Regions from separate parts of the Homo sapiens genome. Here region 1 is linked to region 2. The links are contacts of gene promoters, found by promoter capture Hi-C in blood cells and fetal thymus (Javierre and others, 2016). All regions are on one chromosome and are shown on one strand. The core of a region is centred on a gene start or on the middle of the fragment in contact, and the rest is flanking DNA. Distances in the headings are between cores, read along the strand shown.

Region 1 (5,459 bases), core at 2,615-5,114, 160 kb before region 2:
AGCTTCAACCGTCCTTCTTGCCTCACACGTCCACGCGAGGTGGGGGTGGATGGGGGCATTGAACAGCGCTTTGAAATCCAGAGGGGGGCGTCCCATTGAGGCTATGTGGGGAGGAGGTGTTAATGTTGGTAGCTGAGTCCCAAGGACCTTCATTAACTGAGGCGGTGGAAAGTGGGCCTAGGTAGGCTTATAACTTACAGCGGGTTCCTATGTAGGGGAGGTGATGGAAGGTGGGGAGAGGGAGAAATGGGTGAAAAGGGGGAAAGGAAATAGTTCAGGAGGGATTGGGGCAGAGGGCAGAGGCGGGGGTTCTTCTGGGAGACTGAGGGCCAGGTCCTCAGATACTGCCCTGGCCCTTCACTGTTGGCCGGATCCAGCAACTGTCAAGAGCCATTCTCAGAACTGAATAGATACCTCTAAAATGCCTGCATATCCTGTGTGCAAGTGCACACATCAACACACAGATCAAGGGAAGTCATGTGTGACTACTCACCCCTCACATCTGATTGGACACCAAATCCTCTCCACCTCACATCCTCAATATCACCCCTTCATTGACTTATTTTTTTATTTTTTTTTTTCTTGAGACAGAGTCTGGCTCTGTCGCCCAGGCTGCAGAGCAGTGGCACAATCTCAGCTCACTGCAACCTCCGCCTCCCAGGCTCAAGAGATTCTCATGTCTCAGCCTCCCAAGTAGCTGGGATTACAGGCATGTGCCAAAAATTGGCACAGCCAATTTTTGTATTTTTAGTAGAGAAGGGGTTTCACCATGTTGGCCAGGCTGGTCTCAAACTCCTGGGCTCAAGTGATCTGCCCGCCTTGGCCTTTCAAAGTGCTGGTATGTGCCACCGTGCTGGCCCCCTCCACTGACTTCTGCTCATCCTCTCTGCTACTGCAGGCCACACCTTCCCACATCTTGCTTGGACTGCTGCAACAGATTGTTTCCTTGCCTCCGATTTTGCCCTTCTCCCAACTGTGACAATACTGCTAGGCACCATTTATGGAGCAACTACTAAGTGCCAGACACTGTGCTAAGAACTCAACACTTTTTATTGCTAATCCTTGTAACAACCCTGGGAGGTTACCATATTAAGTTGCCCCTTTCAACAGGAGAGGAATCTTAGGCCTCAAAGGTTAAATAGCTCACCCAAGCTTGCACCATTGTAAATGCCTGATTTACCCAGAACCGCCTGGCTCTAAGCCCTTATTTCATTCTCCTCTCTGAAGTCAGTCATTTCTCTAATATACGAGTATTCTCATATATTGCCTTTGGATCAAGTCTAGGCCCCTTGCATAGCTGATTAGAACTTCTCCATCAGCCTCCACTCTGTGTTGCACTCACACTCAATTTTCAGCATCTCAAAAGTTGTTAATCCCTCATACCTCTGAGCCTTTGCATATACTCTTCCCCCTTCCTACAACACTCTTCCTTTTTTTTTTCTTTTAGACAAGGTCTCATTCTGTCACCCAGACTATGTTTTTTTTTTTTTGTATTTTTTGTAGAGATGGGGTTTCGTCATGTTGCCCAGGCTGGTCTCAAACTCCTAGACTCAAGTGATCCACCCACCTCAGCCTCCCAAAGTGCTGGGATTACAGGCATGAGCCACTGCACTGGCACCACTCTTCCTTTTTTTACTTGATAACTCTTATTTGTCCTTCAGTTTCTTTACTTAGTCATGCTGTCTTCCAGGAAGCCTTCCTTAATTCCCCCCCAACACTGGCTTAGATTTACTCTTTTGTCTCCTATAACATCCAGTACTTATTTTTTATTTTATTTTATTTTTATTATTTATTATTTATTTATTTATTTATTTTTTGAGACGGAGTCTCTCTGTGTCACCTAGGCTGGGATGCAGTGGCACAATCTTGGCTCACTGCAACCCCCGCCTCCCAGGTTCAAGCAATTCTCTGCCTCAGCCTCCCAAGTAGCTGGGATTACAGGCATCTGCCACCACATCTGGCTAATTTTTTTGTATTTTTAGTAGAGATGGGGTTTCACCATCTTGGCCAGGCTAGTCTCGAACTCCTGACCTTATGATCTACCCACCTTGGCCTCCTACAGTGTTGGAATTACAGGCGTGAGCCACCACGCCTGGCCCTCCAGTACTTATTCTATCGAGATACTTCCTACTCTTTTGTATTAGTTGCTGGTTAGTTTGTGAGGTGAAGGGATGAGTCTGTCTTGCTTGTTATTGCATGCCTAAGTCTAGCCCAGTGTGCTTAGCACAAAGTAGGTGCTTTCTGAACATTTGTTGAATGAAAGAATGTTCTTTAAGTTCATTCCACATTTCAAAAATCTGGGCTCCGAGGAAGAATGCAGCAGGCCAGAGAAAGCGGGGAGACGTGTGTATTTAGGAATTTTTTTTTTTTTAAATGGAGTCTCGCTTGTCTTCCAGGCTGGAGTGCAGTGGCACAATCTCGGCTCACTGCAATCTCTGCCTTCTGGGTTCAAGTGATTCTCCTACCTCAGCCTCCAGAGTAGCTGGGATTACAGGCACGCGCCACCACACCCAGCTAATTTTTGTATTTTTAGTAGAGACAGGGTTTGTTTGTTTGTTTTTTGTTTTTTTTTTTGAGACGGAGTCTCGCTCTGTCGCCCAGGCTGGGGTGCAGTGGCGCGATCTCGGCTCACTGCAAGCTCCACCTCCCGGTCACGCCATTCTTCTGCCTCAGCCTACCAAGTAGCTGGGACTACAGGCGCCCGCCACCACGCCCGGCTAATTTTTTGTATTTTTAGTAGAGACAGGGTTTCACCATGTTAGCCAGGATGGTCTCGATCTCCTGACCTCGTGATCCGCCCTCCTCAGCCTCTCAAAGTGCTGGGATTACAGGCATGAGCCACCTCGGCCAGCCTGAGACAGGGTTTTGCCATGTTGGCCACGCTAGTCTCAAACTTCTGACCTCAGGTGATCCACCCACCTCGGCCTCCCAAAGTGCTGGGATTACAGGTGTGAGCCACCTCACCAGGCCTGTATTTAGGATTTTGAAGGACCATTCCCTTGAGTTGCTCAGCCTCACTCCTAGGGATGATGTGATCAGAACTCCATCACCCCAACTTCTTCTTATGAAAGACACTAGTATATTTCATGGATCAGATTCTAGGGTATCGTTTTTACAAAGGGTCATTTTCTAGAGATGACCAGGTTCTTACTTAATTCAATGTTGTCCCATTTTAGACACGGGCATCCAGGACAGGTCCCCTTGTTTCAGAATCAGACCCCAGTCTTCCTCTTCCTTTCATTTTTCACTTTGTCCCCTGCCATCCAGATTCCTTCCTGCTCCTTCCATGGCACTTCTGTTTCTGATTCTGATCTGCCTCTCCTAAAGCTGCTGAATTATATCAGGGCTCAATGTCAATGAAGGAACCCAAGGCTCAGGGAAGAGGGGAGCCAGAGTCAGTCCCAGAGGTCCTGCCTTGCAGCCCTGGTGCTGGAAGAGGGGATGGGGAGACCTAGCAGAGAGGGAGGGAAGTTGTAGTCTGTCTGTACCTGTAAATTTGTGTACATATTTGTTGGGGTGAGGAACTCCTTTTCCAAGCTGTCCTATACAAAGGTTGCCAGCCTCTTAAAAGCTTCCTTTCTACCCTGTGTCCTCAGCTTTGCCTCCTAAAATTGGATCCTCTTCCCCAAGTACCCTGAGCCTAGTGTCAGAAATGCTGGGTCAAGGCACTCGGCAGTCTCTAAATCCTGAGGCCATGAATGGATGTTCCTTCAACCCAAGGAGCAAGCTTTCCTGGTCATCAGCCCCATTGCTCTTAGAGGACCCAACAGACTAGTAGCTGATCCTCAGGGTCTCTCATCTGTATGCCCACCATTTGTTGTTTCCTCTTTGTCTCTCCTGTGTCTTTCTGTTTCCCTGTCTCTGCGTGCCTTCTTCTTTCCTGTCCCCTCTATGTTCTCTGTCGCTGGAGTATCCACTGGAGACAAGGGCTGGGCTGGGTGCATGGGCGGGTAGTGGCCAGACCAGGGGCCCGGGACATGAGCGCAACTTTCCAAGCTTCTCTTCCAGGCCCCTGTGGTTGGGGAGCTCCACAGAGGGAGAGATGAGTCAGCGGGGCCGCAGAGCAGCGGGGGCCTGGGTGGGGGTAGGGATGCTGGGGTTCCCCAGGACCAGGGAGTTCGCTGGGGCCATCTGGGTCTCTGAACTCTGGTGTGTGTGTGGAGTATTGGATCAAAAGTACCTAAAGGTACACTGGAACTTCTTATACTAGTAGGAGTTGGAGGCAGCAATTTGCAGGACTGGCAGTGGCCTCCATATCACCCTTATCTCCAGATCCTTATAGGGAGAGGGGTTCCCAAATGCCCTTTAGGAGACCACAGAGATCTCCAGGGCTGTAAAGTTGTAATGGTAGCCCTGGGTATATGTATGTGACATTTGCCACATGTGTAGATACGTGTGTTGATGGGAGTCTGTGAGTCCATGTGGGGAGTATTCTAGGTGGCTGTGAGTCTGTATGCATGTATATATATACTGGTGTGTGCATTTTTATGATTGGGGGTTAGGGTGTCTTGGGGTAAGCATTATCTGTATATGTATATATCAGTGTGTGTCAATATGGATGCCTGCATAGTACAAATGTGTATGAATTATGTGTCACCTTGTGTGTGTGCAAGTATGCAGATCTGAATGTGTCTGTCATCAGGTATGTATTAGGGCATGTGTCAGTCTCTATTTCAGGGGCTCTGCTCACTATTCTCTGGTGATTCTCCCTAGGGTAGTCAAACCTTCTATAACAGCAACAATGAAGAGTTGGGAGTCCCTTTGGATGAGGCTCTTAGAGACAGCCCAGCCTAGAAAGGTGGTAGAGGGTGATGGTGTGGACGATGGAAGTAGCATCCCTTGGGAATAGGGGGTACAGGTCTCCCACTCTCCCCAGTTTTTTTTTTCTTTCTTTTTTTTTTTTTTTGAGATGGAGTTTTGTTCTTGTTGCCCAGGCTGGAGTGCAATGGCATGATCTCAGCTCACTGCAATCTCCACCTCCTGGGTTCAAGTGATTCTACTGCCTCAGCCTCCCAAGTAGCTGGGATTACAGGCACCCGTCACCACGCTCAGCTGATTTTTGTATTTTTAGTAGAGACGGGGTTTCACCATGTTGGCCAGGCTGTCTCAAACTCCTGACCTCAGGTGATCCACCCACCTTGGCCTCCCAAAGCGCTGGGATTACCGGCGTGAGCCACTGCACCCGGCCCCACTCTCCCCAGTTTTCATTCTGTTTTCACCCCACTGATCTTTCCAAAAAGATCCAAAATCATTTGGAGAACTGAGGCAGGTGCCAGATTCAACCCCCTCTAACCTACAAAGCCCACCCTGATTCTCCTAGGGGAGGGTGGGAAGGGAATGGTTCCTGTGGTTCAGCCCAGTCCTGGCATTGGGATATCAGAAAGGCATCATCCCACCCCTTCCGTCTGGGGCATCCATCCCTTGGAGCTCAGCGTCTGGGTGGCCATGGGCGGAGGCTG
Region 2 (5,142 bases), core at 410-2,909:
CTTTGTATTCCCAGCACAATGCCTTGCATGCAACAGGAACTCAATAAATTCCTGTTGGAAAAAAACAAAAGAAGCATTCACCGTACTATTCACTCCCTTACACCCCTCAGCACTTAATGTACCAAATGTAAACTGAGTACACGTTGCTTTGCAAATGTCCCATCAGTGCCTGTGATGCAGTATAGCCTACCTCCTTCATTTGACTGGAAGCTCCCTGAAGGCAGGGGCTGTGGCCTGTCTCCTTTCCTTCCTCTAGATCTCCCCCTGGTGCTTAATACAGAGCTTGGATCACTGGGGTTGGTCAATATGTTGACTAAGGCAGCATTCAAGAGTGAAACTGCAAACAGGCTTCCCAGTTATCTTGGAGGAGGACTCTAGAGCTTTTTACCTGAGCCATGCTGATTTCTCACTTAAGGCAACCCAAAAGTTCAGGAGTTCCTAGGTCCACCTTTCCTTGAGACACTGTCGTTTTGAAGAACTGTCACCAAATCACGGTAGCGACTCCTTCGTGTCCCATCAGTCCTGTTGCCATATTGAACTTTGTCTTCAAATAGAACTTAGTGTCCTCCGAAGAAAAGATAGGTGTTCCAAGAATCCCTGGACTCTGCCTGGCTCCTGCCTATTGTCTGAAGAAAAAGAGAGTCTACCAGTCTTGGTTTTCCAGTTGAATTCTCTTGATGAAGCTCACGATCTGTTTCAGAAACCTGAAACCAGAAAGGAAGAGGGGGGCTGCTAAATGCAACATCTTCAGGCCATTACAACGTGCGATATGAATTTTTTTTTTGCTGGGCGCTCTCTGTGAAGCTCAGAACGAGGACATGAGTCAAGAAGAGTTTTCTTTCTAGGTCAATAGGAGGAACTGGTCTCCTGGGCAAGGAGTGGAAGCCAACAGGAGCAAAAGTAATTGGGGCCTCCTATGGAGGAACTCTGCCAAAAGGAAAGTTGCTTGGATTTGCCATCTCAGGAATGGAAGAAGGGGGCGGAGACCCTTTGGGGCTTTTGTGCCCAGTGGGCCGGCCCGAAAAGCTCGCACTTTACAGAGGCGGCAAGACTAGGGTGGAGGAAAGCTCAAGGGCCATCGCTGGGTGCTTCGGTGGCGGGCAGAAACGGGACTGGCAGTGCCCACACGTGTGCGTTCTCCCCGTCCGCCCGAAGGTAGGGAAACTTGCTGCGGAGGTGGAGGACAGGCAGGCGAAGCCCGGCGCGGCGTGTCGCCCGCCTCGCTCCGGCCAGCCAGCCTCTGCACCCGCTGCACCAACCGGGAGCAGAGCCGGAGAGTGCCGAGAAGCGCGCGAGATGCGTGCTCGCGCCCGCGTCCCCTCCGAGAGCCCTCTCCCGGGCCGGGGACGCGGCGGGACGCGCGGGCAGGGGGCGGTGTGCGCGCACGGCCTTTCCCCTCCCTCCCCCGGAGATCCCCCTCCCTTCGCCACGCGCCCCTCCTCCCCTCCCCTCCCCCTTCCCGCGCGGCACCCCACGGCTTGCGAGCTACTGAAGCGCTGCCGTCTGTACGGACGACGCTGCGGTCTTTGGGGCTTGCTCCTACCTGCCAGGCGCGGCCTCCCGCTGGCTCCCTGGCCGCGCGGCGCCTCCTCCAGGCCCCAGCACACCCTGCCAACCCCACCGCCGCGGCTGCCCCCACCGGGACCGAGGCAAGTTTACAAACACCAACCCCGGCCCGTTTCCCCGGAAGCACTTCCCCCTCCCCCTCGTCCTCTCCGCCGAGCGGCTGCATCCACTTCCGGGCTCGGCAGCTAGACTAGCGGGGGCAGCCTCAGAGCGGGTGAGCTTGGGGACGCACGGAGAGGTGCAGCTGGGTGAGTGGGCGGCGCCGTGCGCCGAGGGCATGGAGGAGGGAGCGCTGAGGCCGGCGCGTGCGCCGTGGCCGGGGCGCGCCCCGGCCGCCATCGAGACTGAGGGCAGGACCCTCGGCCCTTCGATGATTGTACGCTGGGTGCTCGATGGGAGGAGGGTTTGCTGGGTGAGCTGGTTCAGACTCCTTGAAAAATCATCGTCACTCTTTCTTCCTCGCGGACGTCCTGCCCATCGCTCTGAGCCGGCGCCCCAAGTAGAGCCAGAGTAGTTCGTACCCAGCCTTTTCACGTAACTCGGCCGAGGTGGTTCTTCTCCGAATTTTTTCCGTCAGGCCCAGATTAGCAGATTTTGGGGTCAGCTGGGAGAGGCGTTAACTTTTCTTCGCACACTCTTGCTTTGTGCGCTCAACCACAGTCTGAATTCTCGCAGAGGCGTTCCTTGAGTAGCCCTTGGCCACACTGCTCACCTCCCTGCAGAAGTCAAAGCCCCAGCCCTCCTCTGCGAATCCCGAGGCCAGCCTGGTTGGTTACCTTCTCCCCTTCGCCCTTTACTCCAGGCCGTCCAGCATCAAACACTAGCCTCCACACGTGGAAAAGACCCTGACTCCCACAGTAGACTAGTCTTATGGGAGTCCTGGCTCTTGGGCCAGGCTGCATTAGGAAAATGGAAACCAGACTGTCTTCAAATTCTTCTGCCTAGCCTTAGCCATTAGAGAGAGGTCCTGCTAAAGATGGACTGCAAATGCGCTTGATGGAAGGAGATGTCAATTCCACTGAAGTCCTCATTTCTGCTGTAGGTGATATTATGTCGTGACTTTAGGAGAAGTAATGGTGATACCAAAAGAAAAAAAAAACTGTATGATGAAAAAAAGACAAGGATTCTCAACTTTTTTTTTTTTGTAGACAGATTTCATTTCCCTGAGCCACTCCATGATTTGGGCCATTGAAAGTACGTTTTTTGTGTTTTAGGATCATTCTAAAATAGAGACAAAATGGAGAAAGAGAGAGATAAAGAAACATCACCAGGAATAAGTCTTTTAAATCTTTTTTGAAAATTAGCTCCTACTTATTTTACAAATCGACACAACGCAAAAGTATAAAAGACACAAAATGGTTATTCTCCCCCTCTACTTATCCCATGCTCCTGAAGGGAATCATTCTTACCAGTTTGGTATATATGCTTTTAGGCTTTTTTCTGTGTTCATACAAAAATCTTTTCAACCAGTATTTATTGAGCACCTGTAATGCGCCATACAGTGTATTTTAGACATCTGAGTCAGCTAACATTTAAAAAACTGTTGCACAGTATTCCAGTTTATGTGTGTGCCTTGTCCCATCTTGATGAACATTTAGGTTTCAGATTTTTTTGCTTTATAAACAATACAATAATGAACATCCTTAAATAGTTATCTTTTTGCTCCGGGCAGGGTGGCTCACACCTGTAATCCCAGCACGTTGGGAAGCCGAGGTGGGCGGATCATCTGAGGTCGGGAGTTCCAGACCAGCCTGACCAACATGGAGAAACCGCGTCTCTTCTAAAAATACAAAATTAGCCGGGCGTGGTGGCACATGCCTGTAATCCCAGCTACTCGAGAGGCTGAGTCAGGAGAATCACTTGAACCCGGGAGGCGGGAGTTGTGGTGAGGCGAGAGTCGTGCCTTTCCTGGGCAATAAGAGTGAAACTCTGTCTCAAAAAAGAAAAAAAAGTTACCTTTTGCATTTATAAGGATTTATAGATAGGATATGTGCTTTTATTTAAATTTATTTTTATTTTTATTTTTTTTTGAGATGGAGTCTCACTCTGTCACCCAGGCTAGAGTGCAATGGCACAATCTTGGCTCACTGCAACCTCCACCTCCCAGGTTCAAGCAATTCTCCTGGCTTAGCCTCCTGAGTAGCTGGCGCCTGCTGCCAGCCCGGCTAATTTTTTTGTATTTTTTAGTAGAGATGGAGTTTCACCATGTTGGTCAGGCTGGTCTTGAACTCCTGACCTCAGGTCATCTACCCACCTTGGCCTCCCAAAGTGCTGGGATTCCAGGTGTGAGCCACCACACCCGGCCCTATTTTCATTCTGTTTAAAGATAGGGTCTTGGTCTGTCGCCCAGGCTGGAGTGCAATGGTGCAGTCAGGGCACACTGCAGCCTCAACCTCCTGGGCTCAAGGAATCCTCCCATCTTAGCCTCCCAAGTAGTTGGGACTACAGATGTGGGCAACTGTGCCTGGATAATTTTGTAGTTTTTTTTTTGTTTTTTTGTTTTTTGTAGAGACAGGGTTTTGCCATGTTGCCCAGGCTGGTCTCGAATTCCTAGGCTCAAGCTATCCATTGGCCTCGGCCTCCTAGAGTGCTAGGATTACAGGATTGAGCCACCATGCCTGGCCGGATATGTAAATTTTAATAGATTCTGTGAAAATGAATTGTAAAAGTTTGTAACAACTCCCATGTTTACTCAGAACCATGTGTGAATGTTCCCTATTCCTACAACTTTGGCAATGTTTAGTGTATGCTATGAATTTTTTATACAGTTACTAGTTTAATGGGTGAAAAATAGTATTTGTTTTAATTTTCATGTCATTAATAGTGAAGTTAATATTCTCTTATTGCCTTTTTTTTTTTTAAGAGATGGGTCTCTGGACAGGCACGGTGGCTCACGCCTGTAATCCCAGCACTCTGGGAGACCGAGGTGGGCGGATCACCTGAGGCCAGGAGTTTGAGACCAGCTGGGCCAACATGGAGAAACCCCATCTCTACTAAAAATACAAAAAAATTAGCTGGGCTTGGTGGCACGTGCCTGTAATCCCAGTTACCAGGTGGCTGAGGCAGGAGAATCACTTGAACCCGGGAGGCGGGGGTTGCAGTGAGCCCATATTGTGCCATTGCACTCCAGCCTGGGCAACAAGAGCGAAACTCTGTCTCAAAAAATAAATAAATAAATAAATAAATAAATAGATGGGTCTCCACGCTTTGTTGCCTTAGGCTGGTTTCCAACTCGTGAGCTCAAGTGATCCTCCCACTTCAGCCTTCCAAATAGGTGGGACTATTTTATTGCTCTTTGACCATTTTAATTGTTTTTGTAAACTGTCTGTTCATATCCTTTGCCCATTAAAAAAAGGTAGATCATTTGTATATTTCTTATTGATGGTAGAAATCCTGTCTGTGTTATGGATAATAACTATTCTTTGTCGTCTGCATTTAAAATATTTTCTCTTTTTCACTTATCTTTCAGCTTTTGAGACAAAAGTCATGCTTTATGGGAAAATATTTGAAACATTTCTGTCTTTGCTAGGAACAAGCCAGGGATGTTTACTATTAAAACTAAGATTTTAGGAGAGC

What was found. The method cuts DNA at HindIII sites, captures the fragments that hold promoters and counts their contacts. A CHiCAGO score of 5 or more calls a contact.
Region 1: a contact is called between a fragment that was not itself captured here and the fragment with the promoter of ZNF740 in region 2, in 1 of 17 cell types (total B cells). The highest score is 5.8, in total B cells.

The regions. Positions count from the first base shown.
Region 1 is chr12:53,339,173-53,344,631 of GRCh38, reverse strand. It overlaps a transcript of SP7 not described here. Among named protein-coding and RNA genes, the nearest start is that of SP7, 5.5 kb to the right of the region's middle. The HindIII fragment of the contact is 269 bases long and covers 3,730-3,998 here.
Region 2 is chr12:53,177,239-53,182,380 of GRCh38, reverse strand. It overlaps ZNF740 (zinc finger protein 740), which reads right to left and starts at 1,659. Exons shown (of 7, transcript NM_001004304.4): 1 at 1,544-1,659; 2 at 389-704. The coding sequence starts at 397. It overlaps CSAD (cysteine sulfinic acid decarboxylase), which reads left to right and starts at 1,456. Exons shown (of 17, transcript NM_001244705.2): 1 at 1,456-1,649; 2 at 3,239-3,279. RefSeq lists silencers at 642-936, 1,290-1,589, 1,880-1,969 and an enhancer at 1,632-2,190. The HindIII fragment of the contact is 11,552 bases long and covers 1-5,142 here.